Linked DNA regions of Homo sapiens: regions 2, 3 and 4 are each linked to region 1. Evidence: promoter capture Hi-C in 16 types of primary human blood cells and fetal thymus (Javierre and others, 2016). All regions are on one chromosome and are shown on one strand. Each heading gives the region's core, a stretch centred on a gene start or on the middle of the fragment in contact. The rest is flanking DNA. Distances are from core to core; before and after follow the strand shown. Region 1 holds the start of OSGEP (O-sialoglycoprotein endopeptidase). Region 2 has its middle 2.6 kb from the start of RNASE2. Region 3 overlaps LOC100507513 (a long non-coding RNA gene). Region 4 has its middle 20 kb from the start of RNASE1.

Region 1 (2,594 bases), core at 65-2,564:
CTGGGTTTACAGGCATGCGCCACCACGCCCAGTTAATTTTTTGTATTTTTTAGTGGAAACATGGTTTCTCCATGTTGGTCAGGCTGGTCTCGAACCCCGACCTCAGGTGATCTGCCTGCCTTGGCCTCCCAAAGTGCTGGGATTACAGGCGTGAGCCACCACGCCCAGCCGTGTTTGGTACTTTCATCTAATCTTCAAGACCTAATGATACAGGTATTATTCCCATTTTAAAAACAAAGACCAGGCCCGAGCGGTGGCTCATGCCTGTAATTTCCACACTTTGGGAGGCTGGGGTGGGCGGATCATCTGAGGTCAGGAGTTCGAGACCAGCTTGGCCTGGTGGAAACCCCGACTCTACTAAAAATACAAAATTTAGCTGGATGTGGTGGCGCACACCTATAGTCCTAGCTACTTGGGAGGCTGGGGTAGAAGAATCGCTTGAACCTGGAAGGCAGAGATTGCAGTGAGCCGAGATCGTGCCACTGCATTCCAGCCTGGGCGACAGAGCAAGACTCTGTCTCAAAAAAATAAAATAAAATAAAAAATAAAGACCAAATGTCCAAAACAAAAATATTTAATATGAATATAGCAAAGCCAGCCAGTTCTGTCTGACATGTAAGCCGGGAGTCTTTCCACTCTCATCTCTCTACTCATCCTAGAATATTTCAAAAAATAATTTTTTTTTAAAAAGGGAGTGTATATTCAGGGCAACTGGAATCTATACTCCTGCTAAGCGTTTTTTAAACAGAATATTTCGAGTCCATCTCTATTATACTGTTTATCATGCTGTAGTATAAACATCTATTTATATGTCTGACTCCACAGCAGTATAACATCTATTTCTGAATACTTAGCACATAAAATGCGCTCAGTAAAAGGTAAATGAACTCATCAGATCCACGTCCAAGTGCCTGTAACTCTTCTAGTCATCAGCCTTGTGACGTTAATAATGTCACATAATTTCAATGAGACTCGGATCGAAAGCTGCACCTCACTAGTATTTAGGAAGATGGAAGGCTGATTCTGTGCGGGGAAGTGCGCGGAAAACTCTTAAGTCCCCTACTCACCAACCTGTGCCAGGAGGCGTGACGTAAGTCCGCCGCGGGTTCGCCAGCACCTTGCCATCCCGCACCACGCCCACGCCAATCTTATTGGCGCTGCCTTCAAAACCCAGCACCGCCGGCATGGCGGAGGCTGGGAGAAAACGCCGACAGGACTCCTGGCAATGTCAGGAGCTGTGGAGGTCCTCACTAGTCCGCGCTGGGCCGCAGCTTTCCGGAGCGCAGAGGAAGCTGGCCAGCCTGCAGATAGCACTGGGAAAGACACCGCGGAACTCCCGCGAGCGGAGACCCGCCAAGGCCCCTCCAGGGACCTGTCTTCCTAACTGCCAGGGACGCCGAGCCAACTCTGTGCCTTACATTCGTATCCGTTTTCCTATCTCTTTCCCGTGGTCCAGCCCAGCCTTCTCCACTGTTTTTTTCCCTCTTGCACATAGTTAGAATCTTAAGTCAGTGTCACACAATGTGCTGTGCATCTGGCACAACGATAAACAGCCCGAGGGAGGGTTGGGGACCTAAGTGTCCTAGAGAATTAGAGGAGGGAGGCGAGGCTAAGCGTCTCCGTCACGTGGTGTCAGACAGACCAATCACGCGCATTCTTCGGCCACGACAAGCGCGCCTCTGATCACGTGACCAGGTCCGCTACCCACGTGGGGGCTCAGCGTGCACCCTTCTTTGTGCTCGGGTTAGGAGGAGCTAGGCTGCCATCGGGCCGGTGCAGATACGGGGTTGCTCTTTTGCTCATAAGAGGGGCTTCGCTGGCAGTCTGAACGGCAAGCTTGAGTCAGGACCCTTAATTAAGATCCTCAATTGGCTGGAGGGCAGATCTCGCGAGTAGGGTACAAGGCACTATGAAATGATCTAGTTTCGTGGGTGAGGGGCTGAAGGGCCTATGATGCACGGAGGCGGGGAAAGGATTTAGAGATAACGTGGTTTGAAAGGCGGGACCTGGTGCGGGGACGCTCTTGGGAGGAGTCTTCTCCCCAGCCTTAGCTGGTTTCATGATTTCTTTGCGTCTGTAGGCAACGCGGTAAAAATATTGCTTCGGTGGGTGACGCGGTACAGCTGCCCAAGGGCGTTCGTAACGGGAATGCCGAAGCGTGGGAAAAAGGGAGCGGTGGCGGAAGACGGGGATGAGCTCAGGACAGGTAAGGGAATGAAATCAGCCCTTCTTCCTAGAAGCTGCGGCGGGGGTGTTTGTCATTCCCTTGATGTACGGTAAGTACGGGCCGACTCATTTTTGCAGGGGTTTGTGAAGAAGTCGCAGGAACCGTAGGCTTTCGTTGGGTCTATAGTTAACGCCGGATCGCAGTTGGAAACCACCAGCTTTTTGTCAGTATATATTACTCATTTTATAGAGCCAGAGGCCAAGAAGAGTAAGACGGCCGCAAAGAAAAATGACAAAGAGGCAGCAGGAGAGGGCCCAGCCCTGTATGAGGACCCCCCAGATCAGAAAACCTCACCCAGTGGCAAACCTGCCACACTCAAGATCTGCTCTTGGAATGTGGATGGGCTTCGAGCCTGGATTAAGAAGAA
Region 2 (2,594 bases), core at 55-2,554, 500 kb after region 1:
GAATCACCTGAGGTCAGGAGTTCAAGACCAGCTTGGCCAACGTGGTGAAACCCTATCTCTACAAACATAGAAAAATTAGCTGGACGTGGTGGTGCACGCCTGTAATCCCAGCTACTCGGGAGGCTGAGAAAGGAGAATCATTTGAACCCGGTAGGCAGAGGTTGCAGTGAGCTGAGATCTTGCCACTGCACTACAGCGTGGGTGACAGAGTGAGACTCCATCTGAAAGAGAAAGAAAGAAAGAAGGAAAGAATGAAAGAAAGAAAGAAAGAAAGAAAGAAAGAAAGAAAGGAAGGAAGGAAGGAAGGAAGGAAGGAAGGAAGGAAGAAAGAAAGAAAGAAAGAAAGAAAGAAAGAAAGAAAGAAAGAAAGAAAGAAAAAGAAAAAGAAAGAAAGAAAGATTTTAAAAATATGCAATGGGACACGAATGCAATTTTCCAGTTTCTTAGGAAACACACTTTATTTCATCCCTCCTAAGACACACCTCTCCATAATTCCATCGGGGCTCTATTCCCATTTCTTCCCTTTCCAGAGAAGTAAAGGACTTGTTATAGTTGAGGAAAAAGGAGAAGGCTTACTTCTTTCCTCTTTCATGCCAGAAACTTAATCGAAGGGGTCAGATCTACTTATTCAATGGCTTTCAGAGGAGACATGCAGGAGGCCCCACATAAGAGGGAAGGCCTAGGGCCACCTTTCTGAGGTTTAAGAGACCAGGAAGAGCTCAGTACACCAAATATCTTTAGAAATTAGGTAAGTAAAATATTACTCAATTTGGTGCAATTTAACCTGCACCATATTATTATGACAATCTTGTATTACTTTTAATGGCAAAAATTGCAATTACTTTGGCACCAACCTAATAAATAGTGTGCATTGTCTTTCCCATAGATAGCCACTGCTGCATTAGGGAAATCTGTGTGCAGGAAGGTATCTATGGTTTGGTACCTCCCTGTCAGCAGGTTAAGAGCAAATATTGCAAGGGTACCCTGGGGCTGAAGAAATTGCAAGTGTTAAACATTATATTTTTGCACATAAATGCTATGCAAAAAGTCATTGATCAATGCAGTGTACTCAACAGTGGTTTTTACCATAAATGGAGAAGTCTTTGTCTGGGACAATATTTTACAATGTTCATCGGTTTCCAAAAAATGACTTAATACTGGGGCATAATTCTGACTATTCCTCTGAGTGGAAGTGTGCATTGGGTCTGAAAATGTGTCGTTAAATTAGGCTGCAAGACAAGTTATGCTAATAAAGAACCCGGGAGAAGTGGCTTGTGTCTGTTCAAGACAAAATCATGCTGAAGTCACAGAGAATTTTGTTTACCGTTGGCTTATACTTTATTATTCCTGCTTCATATAAAACAGTCTTCTCCCAAAGCTCGTAAATATCAAAGTAGATCTTTTCTAAAGTTCTGCAGGCAAATGAAAGTAGTTGGAAATGTACACAGGAAATCTACACAAGGGAGAATCAGAAAAATCTTATGAGCATGTTCTCAATACAATTTTAGTGATCAGGAGTGGTGGCTCATGCCTATAATCCCAGCACTTTGGGAAGTCCAGGGGGGCGGATCACTTGAGGTCAGGAGTTTGAGACCAGCCTGGCCAACATGGTGAAACCCTGTCTCTACCAAAAGTACAAAATTTAGCCGGGCATTGTGAAGGGTGCCTGTAATCCCAGCTAATCGAGATGCTGAGGCAGGAGAACTCGGGAGGCAGAGGTTGCAATGACCCAAGATCGCGCCACTGCACTCCAGCCTGGGCAACAACAGCAAGACTCCATCTCAAAAAAAAAAAAAAAACCACAATTTTAAAGGATGAATATGGTTGCAAATTGGGCAGGTTATGTATGGTCTGAGTTATTTCTTAAGACACTGCAACAAGTCTGATGCGTCATAAGCACAGATGTCTCCAGAAGCCAGGCAGGTGTCATTACTGAACAGACAGGATGAAAGTCAGGAGGCAGAGATGGAGTCAGAGAACAGCCCCGAGCTAGAGCCCCTTCCACAGAGGCAGCTTTACCCAGCTCTAATTGATACCACACAGCAACGGAGACACAGTGCACCAACCAACATCATGTGATTTTTAAAGATAAGACAGTAATGAAAACTTTTAGTGAACTATTCCAATGTCAAACTTTACCTTCCAAACCAAACATTATAAATAGCACTGTATATGCTGAAAAGAGGCACTGTTTAGCCAGGTACCTGCCCTGGGGCTGCAGTCTATGTCTTTTGCCTCATACTATAGACACTTGAGTGCAAGTCTTTCTACCCAGTGTGTCTGTCAGCATCACAGAGCGGATACTCTACGTATCATTCACCTTTACATTCTCATCACCTGCAAAAATGATCTCCACACAATATACATGAAAAAAGAATTTGCTTCATGATAAAGCTGCTAATGAATGTCGGCCAGAAGAGGACTTCAAGGCAGAGCAATATTAGCTGCGCATTGAGTCCTCACTGGGTCACCATTGTGTCCACATTTACCTAAGGACCCCAGTGATAAAATTATTGCATTTCTAAATGACAGGAAAATTGGATGGTAGTAAAAATTATGTAGATTAACTGTTGGAAGGTATATTATATCATTTA
Region 3 (2,594 bases), core at 30-2,529, 420 kb after region 1:
TCCCAGCACTTTGGGAGGCTGAGGAGGGCAGATCACCTGAGGTAAGGAATTCAAGACCAGCCTGGCCAACATGGTGAAACCCTGTCTCTACTAAAAATACAAAAATTAGCTGGGTGTGGTGGCGCATGCCTGTAATCCCAGCTACTCAGGAGGCTGAGGAAGGAGAGTTGCTTGAACCCAGGAACCGAAGGTTGCAGTGAACCGAGATTGTGCCACTGCACTCCAGCCTGGGTGACTGAGTGAGACTCAATCTCAAAAAAAAAGACGGACCCATTCTAAAAAAGTTTCTACATGAGTTTATAAGTACTCGCTTCTGCATGTCTGAAAAAATCTCTGTCTAATAAGAGAGACACACCTCAAAAGTTTTATCAATAAAAAAGGTACAAAAAAGTCAGAATAAAAATAGGACATAAAATCAATGCTATAAATATTAAACAGATTATGAATAACTTTGTGCTAATATATTTGGGAACTTTAGACGAAATGGATAAATTCCTACGTGGGAAAAAACAATCTACCAAAGCTTTCTCAAGAAGAAATGGAAAAGTTAGCATCTCTTTAACCATTAAGGAAATTGAAACAGAAGTTTAAAATAGTTTGAGGCTAAGCCTGGTGGTGTGTACCTGTAGACCCAGCTACTCTGGAGGCTGAGGCAGCAGGATTATTCGAGATCAGGAGTTCAAGCCCAGGAGTTTGAGGCACCTGAGACCGAGTGTTCAAGGATCAGTTGAGACCAGTAATTCGAGGTATGCTCTGTGATTGCACCTGTGAATAGCCACTGCACACTAGCCTGGGCAACATAGGAAGACCCATCTCCAAAAAAAAAAAAAAAGGAAAAGAAAAAAGAAAAAGCAGTCTCAAAGAAAATAAGAAAATATCAGGACCAAACAGCCTTACATGTGAGTTCTACCAAGTATTAAAATAACATATAATTCCAGTTACAAAATAAAGAAGGACTACTCCCCAATTCATTTCTGGAAGCTAACATATAACCTAGATACCAAAATTAAACAAGGCAATACAAAAAATTACAGACCAATCTCATTCGTGAACATAAATGCAAAAAAAATTTAACAAAATATTAGCAAATTAAATTTAGTCATATATAAAAAAGATTATATCACATAACCAAAATGGGTTTATCCCAGGAATACAAGGTTGGTTTAGTATTCTAAAATCAACTAATCTAATTCACCCCATTAACTGATTAAAGAAATATGCTGTATAATCCCATCATTCAACGAAATTCCCAATCCATTCAAGAGACATAAACAGGAGCAGAAGGGAAGAAACTTTTCTAATCTAAAAATGGGCATCTACAAAAGATCCACAGCAACAACCAGACCTACCAAAATGGCCCCTTAAAGATTTCTTGAAGGCACTTTTATAGCGAGCATTAGGCTAAGTGCTGAATGTCAAGAACAAAGGCAAAACAGCTATACCTCCTGGCATCGGGGGAAGGAATGAAAGTAATAGTATCCAGTTTTGTCACTGGATTATTCCAAAAGGGTAAAATCCTCACGCAACTCTGTTCCACAGGCACCGGGCTAGTCAGTTAATGGACGGCTGCCCTAGAGTCAAGTGCCCTCCTTTGCTTCAAAACCTTGTCACCATTCTGCTGGAGTCACAGGGTAGAGAATATGAACACCTTTGGATGCTTCCTCTCGTGGATAAAATAACCTCCTTCAGAAGGGGATCGGTGATGTAATGGATTCCATGAAAGAAATAAACTCTTCTCCAGCGCAGCTGAACTGTAAAGCTCATAACACAAGTAGGTCCTCAGTGCATATTCACTTCCTTTCCTTCTTACCTGAGGTGCTGCAGTGTGAATCTGAAGGTGGCAGGTTCAACGTTAAAGTGCTGCAGTGTATGAAAGTTATGGTAGACTCAGAAATCTGTTCTTCAACAGTTAGACTGTATTTATGCTGGCTGGATTTTGTTTATTCACCTATTATCGTCTACCCGTGTCAGCAACCAAGAAACCTGCAGCCTGTCTCAAAGGAAACCAAGAAAGAAGTTTTGGACTCTTGTGCAGGAAGCTTGTGGCGCGGCGCCCCCTGCCGACCAATACGACGGCCACGGGAACTGGGAGACCACGAAGGCTCTGGGCCTGCGGAGTTGCCCAAGCTCCTCCGGCTTCTCCGGAAACGGCTTTTTCCGGTGACACCCCTGGAGCCACAGTGATTTGTTTCCCTAAAGGAAGCGGTTTCCCGCCAGGGTATCGTCCCTAATACCCTCCGAAGGAGCCCATTGAGGAGAAAGGCATAGAATGTCCCGCAGAAGGCAGAAGGACCCTATGATCCAGGAAACCTAGGGCCAGCCATCAGGAGGTTTTATGAGAGCAGCTGGTGGGAAGATCAGCCCCAGGAGAAGGGGATTGTCTAGCAGCTTGGTTGGAGCAAGTCTTTTCCCGAGTATTATTTCCGTAATTCAGGCTCCCTCCCACCAACCCTCCACTGCAGCCTTATCCTCCACCAAAAGCCCTGACACTGTGGCAGGGGTAGGGCACATGGGGTTGGTGGGGAACAGGCTGTAAGAAAGACGCAGGAGCCTGCGTGCAAAGGACGAAGCATTTACAAAGAAGACCTTGACAG
Region 4 (2,594 bases), core at 55-2,554, 370 kb after region 1:
TGGTCTCCAATTAATACATGTCAAGTAAATTAATGTCTCATTGTAGAAGGCTACGGAGTCACAGAAGATTAACTGACTAGAAACAAAGAAAATACTATACAAAAAATATTAGACATGGTGCAGAATCAAAAGGTGGTTGTGGAAGAAATGGAATGTGTTTTTCATGAAGGAGGAATGTAACTACCCAGTGGTTTCACCTTGCCCACAGCCTAGACAGAGCCAGTTTATCAAGACAGGGGAATTGCAATGGAGGAAGAGTAATTCACACAGAGCCGGCTGTGTGGGAGACCGGAGTTTTATTATTACTCAAATCAGTCTCCCCAAGCATTCAGGGAAGCAGAGTTTTTACTGACAACTTGGTGGGTGGGGGGAAGCCAGTGAGCCAGGAGTGCTGACTGGTCAGTTAGGAAACAAGACCATAGGGAACTGAAGCTGTCCTCTTGCACTGAGTCAGTTCCTGGGTGGGGGACACAAGATCAGATGAGCCAGTTTATCAATCTGGGTGGTGCCAGCTGATCCATCAAGTGCAGGGTCAGCAAAATATCTCAAGCACTGATCTTAGGAGGAGTTTAGGGAGGGTCAGAATCTTGTAGCCTCCAGCTGCATGACTCCTAAACCATAATTTCTAATATTGTGGCTAATGTTAGTCCTACAAAGTGAATCTAGTCCCCAGGCAAGAAGGAGGTCTGCTTTAGGAAAGGGTTGTTATTGTCTTTGTTTTAAACTACAAACCATAAAGCAAGTTTCTCCCAAAGTTAGTTCAGCCTACCCCGGGAATGAACAAGGACAGCTTAAAGCTTAAAAGCAAGATAGAGTTAGTTAGGTTAGATCTGTTTCACTGTCTCGGTCATAATTTTGCAAAGGTGGTTTCAGAAAGGTGTCATGATGTGTACAATATCATCTGAAAAAGAATAAATGAGAAGCCTAGCTCTCCAATAAAAAGGCAACAATTAATGACTGCTACTGTAGAAAGGTGAATTTTCAAAAACAGAGAAGTGGTGTAATAAATATAGCTCAGGTAATATAAAAGGTCAGGGAAAAAAAGTGTGTTTTTTCCCCAGCTCTGCTACTTATAACTTGATGAGACTTTTCGATAAATCTTTTTGGAAGCTCTTAAAAACTACCAATGCCAGCCAGGTACAGTGGCTTACGTGTGTAATCCCGGCACTTTGGGAGGCCAAGGCGGGCAGAACACTTGAGGTCAGGAGTTTGAGACCAGCCTGGCCAACATGGTGAAACCCCTAGTTATAAATAAAGTTTTGGTGCCACAAAAGAAATAGCACTCGAATATAAAATGTTCTTTTTAATTCTCAGCAAGGCAATGTACTTCTATAGAAGGGTGCACCCTTACAGATGGAGCAATGGTGAGCACACACTTGGACAAGGGAGGGAAAGGGGTTCTTATCCCTGACGCATGTGGCCCCTGCTGCTGTGTCGTTCCTCTATTGGCTAGGGTTAGAACGCACAGGCTAAACTAATTCCGACTGGCTAATTTAAAGAGAGTGACAGGGTGAGTGGTTTGGTGGGGAAAATGGTTATGGCAGAGGAAGTAATCGGAATGAGTCAGGGTGGAGCAGGTAATTGGAATGAGTCAGGGTGGAGCAGGTAATCGAAAAAGGTTGCTTTACGAGGAAGTTAAAAGTAGAAGGCAAAGAATTGAACATACGAACATACTGACATACTGATTCTTTGAAGAGAAATTTAGAACTCATATCTAACAACCCCTCCTCTTATATTTCCTTACAGTTTTTTCTCTTCAAAATTCTTTAACATGTCTCGGCTTAGTTGTTTTGCTTGATTTTCCAAAGGAAGAAGCTTCTCTGGATAAGGTGGAGGATAGTTAAGGGAGGTTTTAGTGAGTGCCATTTTTATGAGCCTCTGCACCAACCCATGGATGCATGGTGTGACACAGCACCCGACAAGAATAAGTACACCCATTACGGCTGTGAGGGAAGTAAGAATTGAGGCTATTATCCTTTTCCATTTACTGAACCACTTTTCTAGCCCTCCTATAAAGGGGTCATTTACCCCTGAGTTGTTGGCTAACTCATTGGACACAGCAGTCAGACCTTGCAATGCCTTTGTTGTACTTCCATCAGGGGCGGTGTTGTTTGGGATGAAGGTACAACATTGAGTTTTAATCATGATGCAAATTCCTCTTCATTCTGCTAATATGTCTAAGGCTATCCTATTTTCCCAAGCCATCTGGCTAGTAGCCTCTAATTGCTCAGCTATTCCTTTAACAGCAACTCTAGTGTAGTTAATAAATTGCTGTTGGTTGTAGTAGATGTAGTTTATCCAATCTACATTTTTATTAATTGTCCCCCACCAAAATATTGACTCAAATCCTGCAGCTCTTTGATTTCAGGTTTTAAATTGATCTGGTATTCCCCATGGGATTCCAATTGCATTTAAATAGATGTGAGTCGAAAGACCCGTAAGTGGCTTCTCTTGCTTTACAATGTCTTATTTTTCCTTCCTCCGATTGATGAAATGCCAGGGTGAAAAGGATAGCCAATTGTACTAAAGCACAAGTGCCACTCCAGTTATTTGGCAGAGCTTCCGGTAAAGGTCCACAATACCACCACACATCC

Evidence for each region. Contacts are between HindIII fragments. The CHiCAGO score rates a contact against its expected background, and 5 or more counts as called.
Region 2: a contact is called between a fragment that was not itself captured here and the fragment with the promoter of OSGEP in region 1, in 1 of 17 cell types (fetal thymus). The highest score is 5.3, in fetal thymus.
Region 3: a fragment that was not itself captured here is called in contact with the fragment with the promoter of OSGEP in region 1 in 1 of 17 cell types (total B cells); the score reaches 5.1 in total B cells.
Region 4: a fragment that was not itself captured here is called in contact with the fragment with the promoter of OSGEP in region 1 in 1 of 17 cell types (M0 macrophages); the score reaches 5.6 in M0 macrophages.

The regions. Positions count from the first base shown.
Region 1 is chr14:20,453,498-20,456,091 of GRCh38, forward strand. It overlaps OSGEP (O-sialoglycoprotein endopeptidase), which reads right to left and starts at 1,315. Exons shown (of 11, transcript NM_017807.4): 1 at 1,072-1,315. The coding sequence starts at 1,186. APEX1 (apurinic/apyrimidinic endodeoxyribonuclease 1) reads left to right here and starts at 1,729. Exons shown (of 5, transcript NM_001641.4): 1 at 1,729-1,897; 2 at 2,081-2,206; 3 at 2,417-2,594. The coding sequence starts at 2,149. RefSeq lists promoters at 1,228-1,672, 1,302-1,839, 1,504-1,838, enhancers at 1,263-1,352, 1,773-1,992 and cis regulatory regions at 1,299-1,629, 1,560-1,715, 1,586-1,627, 1,624-1,629, 1,640-1,672 and 2 more. The HindIII fragment of the contact is 3,687 bases long and covers 1-1,834 here.
Region 2 is chr14:20,951,599-20,954,192 of GRCh38, forward strand. No RefSeq gene overlaps it. Among named protein-coding and RNA genes, the nearest start is that of RNASE2, 2.6 kb to the right of the region's middle. The HindIII fragment of the contact is 7,527 bases long and covers 1-2,594 here.
Region 3 is chr14:20,871,749-20,874,342 of GRCh38, forward strand. It overlaps LOC100507513 (a long non-coding RNA gene), which reads right to left. Exons shown (of 4, transcript XR_110261.4): 3 at 1,811-2,594. Among named protein-coding and RNA genes, the nearest start is that of RNASE3, 18 kb to the right of the region's middle. RefSeq lists enhancers at 2,044-2,143, 2,254-2,303. The HindIII fragment of the contact is 1,516 bases long and covers 522-2,037 here.
Region 4 is chr14:20,821,473-20,824,066 of GRCh38, forward strand. No RefSeq gene overlaps it. Among named protein-coding and RNA genes, the nearest start is that of RNASE1, 20 kb to the left of the region's middle. RefSeq lists an enhancer at 258-552. The HindIII fragment of the contact is 1,018 bases long and covers 796-1,813 here.